3 separate regions of the Homo sapiens genome follow, and regions 2 and 3 are each linked to region 1. The links are contacts of gene promoters, found by promoter capture Hi-C in blood cells and fetal thymus (Javierre and others, 2016). All regions are on one chromosome and are shown on one strand. Each heading gives the region's core, a stretch centred on a gene start or on the middle of the fragment in contact. The rest is flanking DNA. Distances are from core to core; before and after follow the strand shown. Region 1 holds the start of PRSS36 (serine protease 36). Region 2 overlaps ITGAM (integrin subunit alpha M). Region 3 has its middle 17 kb from the start of ITGAM.

Region 1 (5,120 bases), core at 1,090-3,589:
CAAGAAATATCTTGAGTGAAAGAATGATTGAATGAATGATGGTGGGTAGGAAGAAGAGAGGAGGTGGGGAGTAGAGAGATGAGTGGGGGTGGATGGAATGAGAGGAAGGCGGATGGGAGGGAGGCACAGACTGGCATTTGCTGAATATCTATTATAGGCCAGCCTTATGCTGTAGTGCTTTACTATAGATTACCTGAGGTGAAATATGTAAAGTGCATTGGTTATTGCTATGCCAGGCACTGTACTATGAACTTTACATGGATTTTCTCATTTAATCCACTCAACCACCCCTTGAAGTGGGTATGGCTATTTTCCTCGTGTTACAGATGAGGAAATGTACTGGGTGAAGTGCTTTGTCTGACATGTTAGAGCTGGGATGGGAACCCTAGTCGGAGCCTAAACCCAGGAAAGAAAAAACTGGAAGGACAGGTAAGGAGGGAATGGGGTGCGTGTGGGTGATTCCGTGGTCTTAGTTTGAGAATCCTTGCAGGGAGAAGGCTACATGGAGATCGGTGTGGGATTCATCCACCGACCCGCAGAAACCTACCCTCCAACGCTCCCCGCAGGCTCCGCTCCGTGGCCCCACCTCCTGAGGCCCCGCCCTAGGAACCTCACCTCTCGAAGCCCCACCTCCCCGAGGCCCTCCCCTCTTGTCCCGTCCCACTCACCTGCCTCCTGGACGTCTCCCCAGCCGGTGGCCCAGCAGGCGGTGCCGTGCACGAAGCGGTGTGAGGCGCGGGGCAGGCAGACAGGCCACACGGCGGGGCCCAGGCTGGCGGGTGAGGCCAGGCGCAGCAGGGCCAGGTCGGCGCCCAGCTCCACTTGGCTGTAGTTGGCCGGCACCACGATGGCGGCCACTGCGCGGGTGTGCGCGCCGTCCAGGGGCCCGTCCTGGGAGTGCACGCCCAGCAGTACCGACCACTCGGCCGCGGGCTCCAGCGTCCCATTCCTGCGCTCGACCGGGGCAGTAGGAGGTTAGGTTGACCCTATGGAGGGGGCAGACCCTCGTTGGGGGCAGGGGCTCAGAGCCAGAGGGGCAGGTGCTATCCGATCCAGATTTGGTGCTGATACTCCTCAAAGGGGAAGAGCAAATCCGATTTGGAGCTGGTGGTGGGGGGGTCATTGGAAAGATGGGATTCAGACCCGGATATTGAGTGGAGTGGTGGGACCAGTCCGGCAGCCTTGCCCCACTCGGAACCATGATGCCTCGAATAGCACCTCGCTTTGGGGACAGCTTGGCTCCAAATTATCCTTGAGGACGGAAGTGGGGCGGGAGGAGGGGACCAACTGCGGGGGCGGGGGCCAGCTTTTGGCGGAGAGGGGCCAGGACCAGGGCGAATACTCACGTCATGAAACAGTGAGCAGCGGAGAGGACCCAGGAGGGGGCGATGAGGGAGCCCCCGCAGATGTGGCCACCTCCATGGTGCAGGCTCACTTGCCAAGGCCAGGTGCCCGGCTGCGCGTTTGAGCCCCCCACGATGCGGGCCGAGGGCTCAGGGCGCCCGCAGTCTGCAACGGGGAGCCGTGGAAGCCAAAGCTCCCCTCGGGTTCCCCACTCCAGAAGCCCAGGTAACTCAGGACGAAGGCCCGTCCTCCACCCACTTCAGTTTGCCCCTCTGAACAAAGAACATAGAGGACCCAGGCTTGTCTACATTTCTGGTCTTTTCCACCTCCCTCATGGCCTGACCAGCCTTAGCCTCCTTTAAGGTCTGAGGGTGCCAAGGCCTCTTCCTTACCCAGATCTTCAGGTTCTTCCTGGGTAGGACTGAGAGCTGGGAGCCAGAGGGGAAAGAGAGGAGGACACTTGTGACTTCCAGGCCTGCACCGCCCAGCCCCACTTCCTGCTCTCCAACCCCCGACCCTATCTTCCCACTTCCCTGTCCGTTCAGCAACCCCTGCCAGCACCCATGCCAGTCCTCTGGTCTTTTCTGCCTCTGCACGTGACTTTCCCCCAGTCCGGCTACCTTACCTGAGTCCTGGAAGGCTCCTGGGATGGGACTGATGACTGGAAAGACAGAGGTAGGCAGGAAGAGGCTGGCGACTCGCACTCAGTATGTGCCCTCCCTGACTCCCTCCCCCAGCCTCCTAGCCTCCGTCTCCCCAGGGCACCCAGGCCTCCCTCTCCCTCCTCTGATACATCCTCGCCTTCTGCTGCCTCACTTCCTTCTCTCTGACTTCCTGCTCCCCACACAGAAACCAGGAATCCTGCTCTCCAGCCCCCCAGATGCCAGGACCCAGGCCCTTTGCAGCCACTCTTGTCCCCTGAGGTTACCAAGCATCACAAGGGGGAGGAGCAGGTGCCGGGCCATGGCGCTAGAGTCAGCGGAGGCAGAGCCAAGTGAAGGTCTGCTCCCTGCAGGGCTCTGTCACTGCCCAGGCAGCCCGTGACTCCTGATGGTCCCAGGGGCAGCCCCACCCTCCCTGGCTGGAGCCCATCTCTGGGAATCTGAGAGGATCTGGGGCTGGAAGGGGGAAGCTGGGGAGCCTGAAGGCCCCACCCAGAGCCCTGCGCACATCTCATGTCTCTGGAGGCCCAGGGTGGGGGTGGAGGACAGGTGTCCTAGCTCCTGGACACCTGTTGGGTGGGAGAGGGAGGGATGAAAAACACTGCAGGCAAAGGTCAAAGAGGAGGACAGTGTTCTGTGTCCTTGGTGAGCAGTGGCCCTTAGGACAGGGGAAGTGGCCCCTCACGGGCATGACTCATCGGAGACCTCACCTCTGTTTGGGGTGCGGCTGCCCCAGTGGCTTGGCCTTTTCTTCTCACACAGCTCTGGTTACTGGAGCTGCTGGCCAGGTCTGGGACAGGAGCCCTAGGGAATTCAATCCCATCCCAACAAAAGGATCACAGATTCCAGCAGGTTGGGCAGGGCATAGGGACCCTGGGAGGGGGCTGGGCAGGCTGGCGAGGCTGAAAAAGCCTCCACCCTGCTCTGTGTTCCAGTGACAATGCTCTTAGCTGCCCTGTCACTTACTCTGTGTGACTTTGGGAAAGTAACCCAACCTCTTGGTGTGTATCAGTAAGAGCCAGTTTAAGGGACATATGACTTGGCCGAGCACGGTGGCTCACTCCTGTGATCCTAACACTCTGGGAGACTGAGGTGGGAGGATTGCTTGAGGCTAGGAGTTCAAGACCAGCCTGGTCAACATAGCAAGACCCCATCTCTACAAAAAATTAAAAAATACAAAAATTATGAACTGCAGGGCGTGGTGGTGCACGTCTGTATCCCAGCTACTCGGGAGATGAGGTGGGAGGATTGCTTGAGCCTGGGAGGTCGAGGTTGCAGTGAGCTATGATTGTGCCACTGCACTCCAGCCTGGGTGACAAAGCGAGACCCTGTCTCAACAACAACAACAAAAAGAAAAAAAAAAAGAAGAATAAGAAGAAGAAAGAAACATATGGCTCTTCAAAGAGGAGTTGAAGAGAGTTTAAGGAAGAAACTATTTATAGAAGTGTAGGCAGGGTCAAAGGAAACCAAAGAGGCTGGGTGGCTCACGGCTGTAATCCCAGCACTTTGGTAGGCCGAGGCGGGCAGATCACCTGAGGTCAGGAGTTCAAGACCAGCCTGGCTAACTTGGAGAAGCCCCATCTATACTAAAAATACAAAAATTAGCCGAGTGTGGTGGAACTCACCTGTAATCCCACCTATTAGGGAGGCTGAGGCAGATAAAAATGCTTGAACCCAGGACGTGGAGGTTGCAGTGAGCCAAGATAGCGCCGTTGCACTCTAGCCTGGGTGACAAGAGCGAACTCCGTCTCACAAAAAAAAAAAAAAAAAGGAAACCAAAGAGGGATGGTAACGCATCCTGGGGCCAGCAATAATAGAGAGCCCTTGCTACCTGCTGGCCTGAAGAGGCAGAGAGGGGGCAGTTACTGGAACCCAGCAAGAGCTGCAGCTATGGAAGAGATAGCTGTTAGGAGCCGTGGCCTTCAATAGAGAAATGCAGCCTTTACCAGCAGAGAGGGAGTGGGGAAAGAAAAATCCCCATCTCACTCTCATCTCATCCTCTCTATTTTTAATTAAACCAATTAAAAAATTTTAGAGACACGGTCTCACTCTGTCACCCAGGCTGGAGTGCAGTGCTGTGATTATAGCTCACTGTAACCTCGAATTCCTGGGCTTAAGCGATCCTCTGGCCTCAGCCTCCTGAGAAGCTGGGACTACAGGCACGCACCACCATACCCAGCTAATGTTTTTTATTTTTGTAGAGATGGGGTCTTATTATGTTGCCCAGGCTGGTCTCAAACTCCTGTCTCAAGCGATCTTGCTGCCTCAGTCTTCCAAAAGTGCTGGGATCCTCCCATCCTCTGATCACCCCCTGGCTCTTTTCATTGAAACCTCCCAGAGGCCAGAGTTCAAGGGAGACCATTATATGGTCCATAAAGGTCACTCTTAGGGAACAAATCAGGGTGGACAGCAGAAATGCAGGGTCAACCCAGGAATATTTACACATGTGTATCTATCTTCTTACTGATAATATCAATTAATAATAATATTGGTCTATGAGTCTAGTTGCCCTAGAAAACAGGCCTAGGCAAAGCCTGCATGCTTGTGCTTAATTGGGAGGTGCAATCCCAGGGTGGCAAGATTGAGGGAAAATGAGAAGTGAGCAGGAAGAGGGAAAATGCAAATTCAGCCACCCAGCAACGGACTGGGCTCAATTGATAAACCTGCTAGCCTTAGCCTGTCCACAGGAAACGATGGAGGTAAATTGAGTCTTAACTTCAGATTTCTTAACAATGAGAGCCTCCTCAGGCATTTGTTTAACTTGCTGCTTGGGTAGCTATTTGCCCTTCAAAGGATAAATAACCAATCATTTAACCAAAACTCAGAAAAATGAGGTAATGGGCAAAGGTAGGAAAGAAGAGAGTGCAAGTGTCATTGACGCAAAACATGCACGCCCTGGAGACCCTCACCGATACATTGCTTGCTCCAATTTAGTGGTTAATAAACATTTTGGAGCTGGGCGCGGTGGCTCATGCTGGTAATCCCAGCACTTTGGGAGGCCGAGGCAGGTGGATCATGAGGTCAGGAGTTCAAGACCAGCAGCCTGGCCAACATGGTAAAACCCTATCTCTACTCAAAATTAAAAAATTAGCTGGGCATGGTGGCATGTGCCTG
Region 2 (5,120 bases), core at 870-3,369, 120 kb after region 1:
AGCATCTCTTGAATCACTTGTTTTCTCTCTAGGACAATTAACTTCCCCCTTCCTCTGGCTGTAAACACTCTTCATTCTATCTGTATCTGAAAAGCAATCAACCACCACAATCGATAGCCATGAAAACAATCTTCTCTCTTCCAGTCTCCTCCTCATCTCCTGCCATCTCTCCTCACCCTCACCACCCAAGCTTCCTGAGTGCATTCTCTTCACCCCCGGCTGGCCTCCAGCTTCCCTCTCCACCTAGGGGCACTGGGTTCTGGGTTCTCTTTTCACCCACGTGTTCTTCTTTCCTGAAATCACCCAGTTCTGTGGCTTCAGCTAACACTTCTACCTCTCCCTCTTTAGACCTCACTCTCAGGGTTCAAGACTACTTCTTTAAAAAAGTTTTCATTTATTAAAAAATATATAATACATACACTTGGTTCAAAATTCGAAAGGGTGCGGTAGCTCACACCTGTAATTCCAGCACTTTGGGAGGTCAAGGCAGGAGGATTGTTTGAGGCCAGGAGTTTGGGACCAGCCTAGACAACATAATGAGACCCCATCTCTACAAAAAATGCAATTAGCCAGGCATGGTGGCGTGTGCCTGTGGTCTTAGCTATTCAGGAGGCCTCCCAAAGTGCTGGGGTTACAGGCATGAGCCACTGTGCCCTGCCAGTCTTTCTAAAATACAAAACAAATCATCTCACTTCCTTTTCTAAGAACCTTCTGTGGCTCCCCATTGCCTACAGATAAAGTCGAGCTCCTTATTGGAGTAGAAAGGCCCTTGCCCGCTGCTCTTTGCTTGATGCCACCGCTGTGTCTCCATCGCCGTCACATACGTTTGTCCCTGTAGTGCTGTTTCCATCAAACGGCATTCCTGGATTCTGCCAGAATCCTTTTGAGGCCCTTGTCCCATATATCAGTAGGAGTCTCAACTGGGACCAAAAGCACATTCCAGTAATGTAACTGCCCAAGGGGTTCACCTTGCTTGCTGCCTAGACAGAGCCGATTCATCAAGACAGCAGAATTGCGATAGAGAAAGAATAATTCACACAGAGCCAGCTATGCAGGGGACCAGAGTTTTATTATCACTCGAATCAGTCTCCTCGAGCATTTGGGGGCAGAGTTTTTGAGGATAACTTGGTAGGTCGCGGGGGAAGCCAGTGAGCTGGGAGTGCTGATTGATCAGGGATGAAATCATCGGGAGTCGGAGCTGTCTTCTTGCGTTCAGTTGGTTCCTGGGTGGGGGCAGCAAGATCGGATGAACCAGTTTATTGATCTGGGCAGTGCCAGCTGATCCATCAAGTGCAAGGTCTGCAAAATATCTCAAGCACTGATTTTAGGAGCAGTTTAGGGAGGGTCAGAATCTTGTAGCCTCCAGCTGCATGACTCCTAAATCATAATTTCTCATCTTGTGGCTAACGTTAGTCCTACAAAGGCAATCTAGTCCCCAGGTAAGAAGGAGGTCTGCTTTGGGAAAGGGCTGTTACGATCTTTGTTTAAACTATAAACTATAAACTATAAACTAAGTGTCTCCCAAAGTTAGCTCAGCCTACACCCAGGAATGAACACGGACAGCTTGGAGGTTAGAAGCAAGATGGAATCAGTTAAGTTAGATCTCTTTCACTGTCTCAGTCATAATTTTGCAAAGGCGGTTTCAGTAAGATTTATTTACAAAGAGGGGGGTTTATTTATAAAGGGAGTAATTATAAAGCTGTGACAGGCCTAAGGGAGCCATCAGGGACTTTCCAAGCCCTGGGCAAGCAGGTCTGTTGCCACCCCTGGGTTTATGGGTTGAGGAGAGGGAGAGCTCACCAGGGTCTGGAGAGAGTCATGTGGAGCTGGCTTCCTTCTGAGGAACAGTTGGTCTTTTGTGAAGGACATAGCTGTCCCCAAACAACCTCAATGGGAGAACACCCGGACCTCACTGCCCTCCTCCCTCTAGTCTTCTGTTGAGCCCCCTCATCTGCCAAATCCAATGGGAATCCAGAGGGCAACAGAGTCCTGGTGATGGGGTCCCTGCAGGTTGACCTCCCAGGCCACAGAGCTGAGCGGCAATGGGTAGAAAGTGGATTTGGGGATGGGGCAGAAGGCAGAGGAGCACATTCCACATCACTTTATATGTGTGTGCCCTTCCCTTTTCTAGAATCTACTCCTTTTGTATATCTGGCAAATCCTTCCTTCCTTCCTTCCTTCCTTCCTCCTTTGCTTTCCTTTCCTTTCCTTTCCTTTCCTTTCCTTTCCTTTCCTTTCCTTTCCTTTTTTTCTTCCTTTCTTCCTTTTCTTCGAAGTCTTGCTCTGTGACCCAGGCTGGAGTGCAGTGGTGCGATCTCAGCTACTTTTTGTATTTTTAATAGAGATAGGGTTTCACCATGTCAGCCAGGCTGGTCTCAAACTCCTGATCTCAAGTGATCCACCTGCCTCAGCCTCCCAAAGTGCTGGGATTACAGGTGTGAGCCACCTCGCCCAGCTGGGCAAATTATTTCCTGTTCTTCAAGATTCAGTCAAACATCACCACATTCCCTGATTCCCTTGGGCAGAATTAACGAAAATTTTCCATACCACTTTGTCCTTGTTTATTTACTTATTTATTTATTTTTAAGAGACAGGGTCTTTCTCTGTGGCCCAGGCTGGAGTGCAATGGCGTGATCATAGCTCACTGAAGCCTCAACCTTTTGGGCTGAAGTGATCCCCCACCCTCAGCCTCCTGAGTAGCTGGGACTACAGGCATGTGCCAACATGCCTGACTAATTTTTAACGTGTGTGTGTGTATATATATATATATATATATATATATATATATATATATATATATGTTTTTAACGTGTGTATACATATATATATATACACACACGTTAAAAATTATATATATATTATACATAATTTATATATATATTTAACATCTATATTTTTTATAGAGACGGGGTCCTATATTCTCATTGTTCAGCAGAGGGCTGACATGCAAAAAAACCCAAAACACCAAGTGTCAAATTACTTGATTCATACTCTTTTCCCCTTCCCCAGGGTGTCCTCAAGAGGATAGTGACATTGCCTTCTTGATTGATGGCTCTGGTAGCATCATCCCACATGACTTTCGGCGGATGAAGGAGTTTGTCTCAACTGTGATGGAGCAATTAAAAAAGTCCAAAACCTTGGTGAGGGCCCAGGGGTAGGTTAGGGAAGAGCCCACACGGGGCTGGAAGATACATGGCAACCGGGCCACCATGTTCTCCTCCCAGTTCAACTGCAGACATTGCCAAATTGACGATCGATTATGGTTTGCCTTCCTGAGTCTCTTTTCTGCTCTGTTGGATGCAGCCTCAGCATTCTTTCAGCCTTTTATAAAGCGGGCAGCTCTAATTGTTAAGGTTGGCATGGGAGATGAAGCCCACGTGTCATTGCTGGCTGAGTTCTATTTTCATTTTTATTTCTTATTTTTTTGAGACAGAATCTCACTCTTTCTCTCAGGCTGGAGTGCAGTGGTGTGATCTTGGCTCACTGCAACCTCCGCCTCCCGGGTTCAAGCAATTCTCTTGCCTCAGCCTCCCGAGTAGCGGGGATTACAGGCGCATGCCACCATGCCTGGCTAGTTTTTGTATTTTTAGTAGAGACGGGGTTTCACCATTTTGGCCAGGCTGGTCTCAAACTCCTGACCTCAGGTGATCCACCCGCCTCGGCTTCCCAAAGTGCTGGGATTACAGGTGTGAGCCACTGCTCCCGGCCGCTGGCCGTGTTCTAGTATTGAGGAGAGATGGGAGCTGCTGGCAGCTCTCCGTCCTGGTGAGGCAGGGGATTAGGGGCAGCACAGAGGAGGAATTTGGAGAGTGGAGTGTTTAAGATCTTCGTGGAGCTTGCTGGGAGATGTCTGAGGGGTGGGGGCACCTTCTCCAGCATCACACCAGCCGCCCCCTCCGCAGTTCTCTTTGATGCAGTACTCTGAAGAATTCCGGATTCACTTTACCTTCAAAGAGTTCCAGAACAACCCTAACCCAAGATCACTGGTGAAGCCAATAACGCAGCTGCTTGGGCGGACACACACGGCCACGGGCATCCGCAAAGTGGTGTAAGCTTCCCCTTTTCCCTTAGGATGGAGGGAGGAGGAGACACTTTTAGCTGGGCTTTGATGGATGAAGGGAGCCGTTCAGACAGGGGTGGTAGAGGATGCTTCCCCACCGGCAGAGGTGGGGAGGCTGTGCGTGGTGTGTTCATCAAAGGACAAGTTGTGAGTGAAAGGTGGGAGTGGAGTGGGGAAGTGAGGGAAAGGTGTCTGGAGGGAAGCTACAAAGATCAGCTCAGGCCAGGGAGCCAAAGGCAGCTTTACAGCCTGTGGTGAGATATCGCCATGTCTCATTTTGGGAAGTTCACTCTGATTTTGAGGTGGGTGTAGAGGCAAGGATGGGGTTGGGACAGAAGTACAAGAAGCACTGGAGAGTCCTAGAGGGGCTGGGGAGCTGGTGCAGTGCTCTGGGAGAGGTTTCCTGAAGGCCAATTAACTATATATATATATATATATATATATATATATATATATATATTTTTTTTTTTTTTTTTTTTTTTTTTTTTTTTTTTTTTGAGACAGAGTCTCACTCTGTCACCCAGGCTGGAATGCAGTGGCCTGATCTCGGCTCACTGCAACCTCCACCTCCTGGGTTCAAGCAATTCTCCTGCCTCAGCCTCCTGAGTAGCTGGGATTACATGCGTCCATCACCACCATCAGCTAATTTTTGTATTTTTAGTAGAGACAGGGTTTCACCATGTTGACCAGGCTGGTCTTGAACTCCTGACCTCAGGTGATTCACCTGACTTGGCTTCCCATAGTGCTGGGATTACAAGTGTCAGCCATAAATATATATATTTTTAAAATTCAAAAGTAATAATACTCAGTTAAAAAACCCAAATTATGCGAAAGTATAAAAACAAAAACCGTGAAGGCTTCCTTTCCCTTCCCTGCTGCTTTTCCAGGTCTCGGGGCAGTTGCATCTCAGTGCTAAGTCTCAGGGGAGACGGAGCCCCTCCGAGACCTCGCCTAGCTGTATCTGTGTCTGGGACTCTGCTGACATTTCCTTTCTGACGTTAATAGCATCTCTGGCTAGGTGCAGGGTCTCATACCAGTAATGTCAGCACTTTAGGAGGCC
Region 3 (5,120 bases), core at 900-3,399, 92 kb after region 1:
AACCACCACAGCTGTCTCATTGAGGTGGGTGATGAGGGTGGAAATTAGCAAGATGGACCTGCTCTCTCACTAGGAATCCTAAAGGGTGTGTCTGCGGCTCGGTTTAGAATGTGGGGCTTTGTATTAATCAGTTTTGTCCTCAGCTTTGGGGCTGTAAACAAAAATTCTATCAATTTGCATTCCAAACAGCACCGTACGAGAATATAGTTTCTCCAAATCTTCTCCAGCACTCTTTTTTTTTTTTTTTTTGAGCCAGAATCTCATTCTGTCGCCCAGGCTGCCAGGCTGGAGTGCAGTGGTGCAATCTTGGCCCACTGCAACCTCCGACTCCTGGGTTCAAGGGATTTTCCTGTCTCAGCCTCCCGAGTAGCTGGGATTTCAGGCTAATTTTTGCCTGGCTAAAATTATCATGCCTGGCTAATTTTTGTAGTTTTAGTAGAGACAGGGTTTCACCATGTTGGCCATGCTGGAGCACTCAATATTATCAAGCTCAAATTCTTATTTCTTTTTGCCAACATGATGGGAAATAAATAAATAGTATCACATGGCTTTTTAAAAGTTTAATTTATATTTTTCTCATTGTATGCATTTATTGACCAGTTATAATTCCTCTTCTAAAAATGGTCTGTTCCTATGCCTTGGCTTTTTTTTTTTTTTGAAACGGAGTCTCGCTCTGTCACCCAGACTGGAGTGCAGTGGCACGATCTTGGGTCACGGCAACCTCTGCCTCCCAGGATCAAACAATTCTCCTACCTCAGCCTCTTGAGTAGCTGGGATTACAGGCGCGCACCACCACGCCCGGCTTTTTGTATTTTTAGTAGAGAAGGGGTTTCACCATGTTGGCCAAGCTGGTCACGAATTCCTGACCTCAAGTGACCCACCTTCCGCAGCCTCCTTAAGTGCTGGGATTACAGTCACGAGCCACCGTGCGCCCGGCTGCTTATTTTCCTTCATGAGTTATTGTGGTTCTTTATATATCTGCATACTTTTTTTTTTTTCTGCTACATACATGTGTGGCAAGTGTTTTCTCCTAATCTGACAGCTTGTCCTTCAACTCTGTTTATGGAGTTCTTCTCCTTGTGTTACAGAGGAAATGTTTGGACAGCTTTGGCTTAAGTGTCATCTGCACAGGGCATTTTTTTTGTGCCTTCACAGTGCCTGAGTGATGGCAACACACTCTCTTGGCACTGCAAGCTCCTTCCATCAGGGTGGGACCTGGGTCCTGAGCATGGATTCTTTGGGTCAACATCCCTGCTGCTCTACCTGGTGGGAAAATCCCTTGTCCCTAAAAGATTTATTTTATTTATTTGTTTTTTTTTTGAAATGGAGTCTCGCTCTGTCTCCCAGGCTGGAGTGCAGTGGTGCAATCTTGCTCACTACAACCTCCGCCTCTTGGGTTCAAGTGATTCTCCTGTCTCAGCCTCCCGAGTAGCTGGGATTACAGGCTCACGCCACCACTCCGGGCTATTTTTTGTATTTTTAGTAGAGATGGGGTTTCACTCATGTTGGCCAGGCTGGTCTTGAACTCCTGACCTCAGGTGATCTGCCTGCCTTGGCCTCCCAAACTGCTGGGAATACAGGCGTGAGCCATCATGCCCAGCCTCAGTCCCTAAAAGATTTCTAACTGGTGCTTGAAACCTGAACCCTAACTCATAACATCCCAATTCAGATGCAATCACATGGGTAGCACTTTCAGATTTTACAAAGTGCTTTCATATCCATGATCTTAATTGACCCTCTTAGGGAATGAAGGGAGGGTTGGAATCAGGTCTCCAGTTCATTGGAGAAAACAGTCTCTCAGCAGTTCCCAACAGCAATAGTGATGGTGTTGGCCCAGGAGCCTGATCTATCTCTCAATCTTGGCTTCTCTTCCCCATGCGGTTATTAGTTAATCCCCATCCTGAAAGAATTCTGAAGCGTTTGCCTGGGGGTGGGGATGGGGGTAGAATGTGACTCTAATATCCTCAGAAGGGAGGCTTGTATTAGTAAAGTTGAAAGTAGTCATGGCCAATCTAAACTGCTGCTACTGTTTTTCTGGCTTTTGTCCCGGAGTTGAGACAGAGCAGAGAATTTAGCAAGGTTCGGGTGTAGCTGGGTGTTTCAGGAAAGGACTCAAGAACCAGGAAATGCCCACTGTTCAGTTGCCCAAGGCCTGGATGAATGGATAGAAATGGCTTTCGCTGTGTGAATGAACGCTTTTCCTTCACCCTTAAACCATCTTTTGCAACTTTGCGAAACCATGATTCGCAACTTTGCGAATCAAATAGTGTGAGATCTAATATCAAAGAGTTTTTTAATGAAATAAGCAATACTCATAAGAGACAACAATCACATCAAACAATAAATCCACTATGGTTGCAATTATGAGAAACAAATTCTCTCAAAGAAAAAAAGACAAGCGAGGCCAGGTGTGAAGGCTCATGCCTGTAATCCCAGAACTTTGGGAAGCTGAAGAGGGAGGAATGCTTGAGGCCAAGAGTTTGAGACCAGCCTAGGCAACACAGTGAGGCCCCGTTTCTACGAGAAATAAAAAAAATTAACCAGGTGTAGTGGTGTGTGCCTGTAATCCCAGCTACTTGGGAGTCTGAGGCACGAGAATCATTTGAGCCCAGGAGATGGAGGTTGCAGTGAGCCAAGATCGCACCACAGCACTCCAGCTTGGGTGACAGAGCGAGACTCTGCCTTGGAAAAAAAAAAGAAAGAAAGAAAAATTTGTGTTTGGGCCAGTCACTGTGGCTCACGCCTGTAATCCCAGCACTCTCAGAGGCTAAGTCACTTAAGGCCAGGAGTTCAAGACTAGCCTGAGCAACATAGTGAGACCCACCTCTACCAAAAAGAAAAGAAAAGAAAGAAAGAAAGAAAGAAAGAAAGAAAGAAAGAAAGAAAGAAAGAAAGAAAGAAAAGCTCTGTGAGGGAAGGGACCTTGTGTGTTTTGCTTATTTGTAGGTCCCTGATGCCTGGTACATAGTTGTTTCTCTCTCACTTTCTCTCTCTCTCTATATATATACACACATACACATTATATATACGTACACATTATATATATGTACACATTATATATATATATATATACACACACACACGTTATCTCTATATATCTGGATATATATGTATAGGTATACATATACCTATACATATAGAGAGAGAGAGAGAGAAAGAGAGATAGAGCAAGCTGGGCATGGTGGTTCATGCCTGTAATCCCAGCATTTTGGGAGGCTGAGGTGGGCAGATCACTTGAGGTCAGGAGTTCAAGACCAGCTTGGCCAACATGGTGAAATCCTGTCTCTACTAAAAAAACAAAAATTAGCTGGGCATGGTGACAGGTGCCTGTAATCCCAGCTACTTGGGAGGCTGAGGCAGGAGAATTGCTTGAACCTGGGAGGCAGCAGTTGCAGTGAGCTGAGACCTCGCCATTGCACTCCAGGCTGGGCAACAAGAGCGAAATTCCATCTCAAAAAAAAAAAAAAAAAAAAAAGAGAGAGAGAGATACTTTTTTTTTTTTTTTAAAGAGATAGAGTCTTACCCTGTTACCCAGGTTGGAGTGCAGTAGCACGATCATAGCTCACTGCAGCCTTGAACTCCTGGGCTCAAGAGATCCTCTTGCCTCAGTCTCTCGAGTTTATCTTGAGTTTATATATTTTAATGAGTAAATGAATAAGTGAGGAATTCATTGCTTCATTTCTAAGAGTCCAGCAGGAAGCCCAATAAATTGTAGTTGTAGATACCGGGGAAGTGAAACACATTAGGTAAGGGAGGCCCACTCCTCAATGGGAAAAGGGGAAGTGAGGAGAAACTTCAGAATAGCAAAGAGGAACCTGACAACAATTCAGTTCAGCCTTGTGGAATCCAGTGATGTGAGATAAAATCACTCGGTGTTTAACAGACACTGCTGAGCTTCCGATTACCCTGCCCTGGAGCTCCTGTCTGGCCTCTTTCTGTGATAGGATTCATGGGCTATTGTTTAAGTTGTGATCTCTGTTATTTGTAGCTCAAAGCATCCCAACAGACATAATCTCTGTTGTAAATACTTGGCATATAATCACATAACTTTTTTTTTTTTTGGGACAGGGTCTCACTCTGTTGCCCAGGCTGGAGTGCAGTCACATGACTGTGGCTCGTTGCAGCCTTGACCTCCTGGGCTCAAGTGATCCTTCTGCCTCAGCCTCCTGAGTAGCTGAAACTACAGGTGTGTACCACCCTAGACAACTAAAAATGCTTAATGGTTTTTGTGAAATGTGTTTTAGTGTTTAAAAAGCTATATTCTCTTCCTCCTTTTTTTTTTTGAGATGGAGTTTCGCTCTTGTTGCCCAGACTGGAGTGCAATGGTGCGATCTCGGCTCACCACAAACTCTGCCTCCCAGGTTCAAGGGATTCCCCTGCCTCAGCCTCCCGAATAGCTGGGATTACAGGCATGCGCCACCACGCCGGCTAATTTTGTATTTTTAGTAGAGATGGGGTTTCTCCATGTTGGTCAGGCTGGTCTCAAACTCCCGACCTCAGGTGATCCGCCTGCCTTGGCCTCCCAAAGTGCTGGGGTTACAGGCGTGAGCCACCACGCCTGGCCTTGTTTGTTGAGATGGAGTTTCACTCTTGTTGCCCAGGCTGGAGTGCCATGGTGTGATCTCAGCTCACCGCAACCTCCACCTCCCAGGTTCAAGTGATTCTCCTGCCTCAGCCTCAGCCTCCTGAGTAGCTGGGATTACAGGCATGTGCCACCATGCCCGGCTAAAAAGTATTTTTAGTAGAGATGGGGTTTCTCCATGTTGGTCAGGCTGGTCTTGAACTCCCGACGTCAGGTGATCTGCTCGCCTTGGCCTCCCAAAGTGCTAGGATTACAGGCGTGAGCCACTGTGCCTGGCTTTTTTTTTTTTTTTTTTTTTTTGGACAGAGTTTTGTTCTGTTGCCCAGGCTGGAATGCAGTGGTGTGAATTTTAAATTTTTCTGTAGAGATGAGTATTGAGGGAAATTCAGCCAGATATCGGGTGAAATTCACCCCTGATATTTCACATAGAATATTCTTTTCTATTTTCCCTAAGTGTCAGCTGGTCTGAGAAATAAAGGGACAGAGTACAAAAGAGAGAAATTTTAAAGCTGGGTGTCCAGGGGAGACATCACATGTC

The links. Contacts are between HindIII fragments. The CHiCAGO score rates a contact against its expected background, and 5 or more counts as called.
Region 2: a contact is called between a fragment that was not itself captured here and the fragment with the promoter of PRSS36 in region 1, in 2 of 17 cell types (M2 macrophages and M0 macrophages). The highest score is 8.1, in M2 macrophages.
Region 3: a fragment that was not itself captured here is called in contact with the fragment with the promoter of PRSS36 in region 1 in 1 of 17 cell types (monocytes); the score reaches 5.8 in monocytes.

Annotation. Positions count from the first base shown.
Region 1 is chr16:31,147,727-31,152,846 of GRCh38, forward strand. It overlaps PRSS36 (serine protease 36), which reads right to left and starts at 2,340. Exons shown (of 15, transcript NM_173502.5): 1 at 2,273-2,340; 2 at 1,970-2,005; 3 at 1,737-1,772; 4 at 1,347-1,509; 5 at 669-949. The coding sequence starts at 2,309. RefSeq lists enhancers at 974-1,511, 1,512-2,047, 2,048-2,584. The HindIII fragment of the contact is 9,446 bases long and covers 1-5,120 here.
Region 2 is chr16:31,267,945-31,273,064 of GRCh38, forward strand. ITGAM (integrin subunit alpha M) reads left to right here. Exons shown (of 30, transcript NM_000632.4): 6 at 3,010-3,140; 7 at 3,903-4,048. Among named protein-coding and RNA genes, the nearest start is that of ITGAM, 11 kb to the left of the region's middle. RefSeq lists enhancers at 3,338-3,863, 3,864-4,389. The HindIII fragment of the contact is 3,863 bases long and covers 189-4,051 here.
Region 3 is chr16:31,240,374-31,245,493 of GRCh38, forward strand. No RefSeq gene overlaps it. Among named protein-coding and RNA genes, the nearest start is that of ITGAM, 17 kb to the right of the region's middle. RefSeq lists enhancers at 3,556-3,645, 4,007-4,511, 4,512-5,015. The HindIII fragment of the contact is 8,842 bases long and covers 1-5,120 here.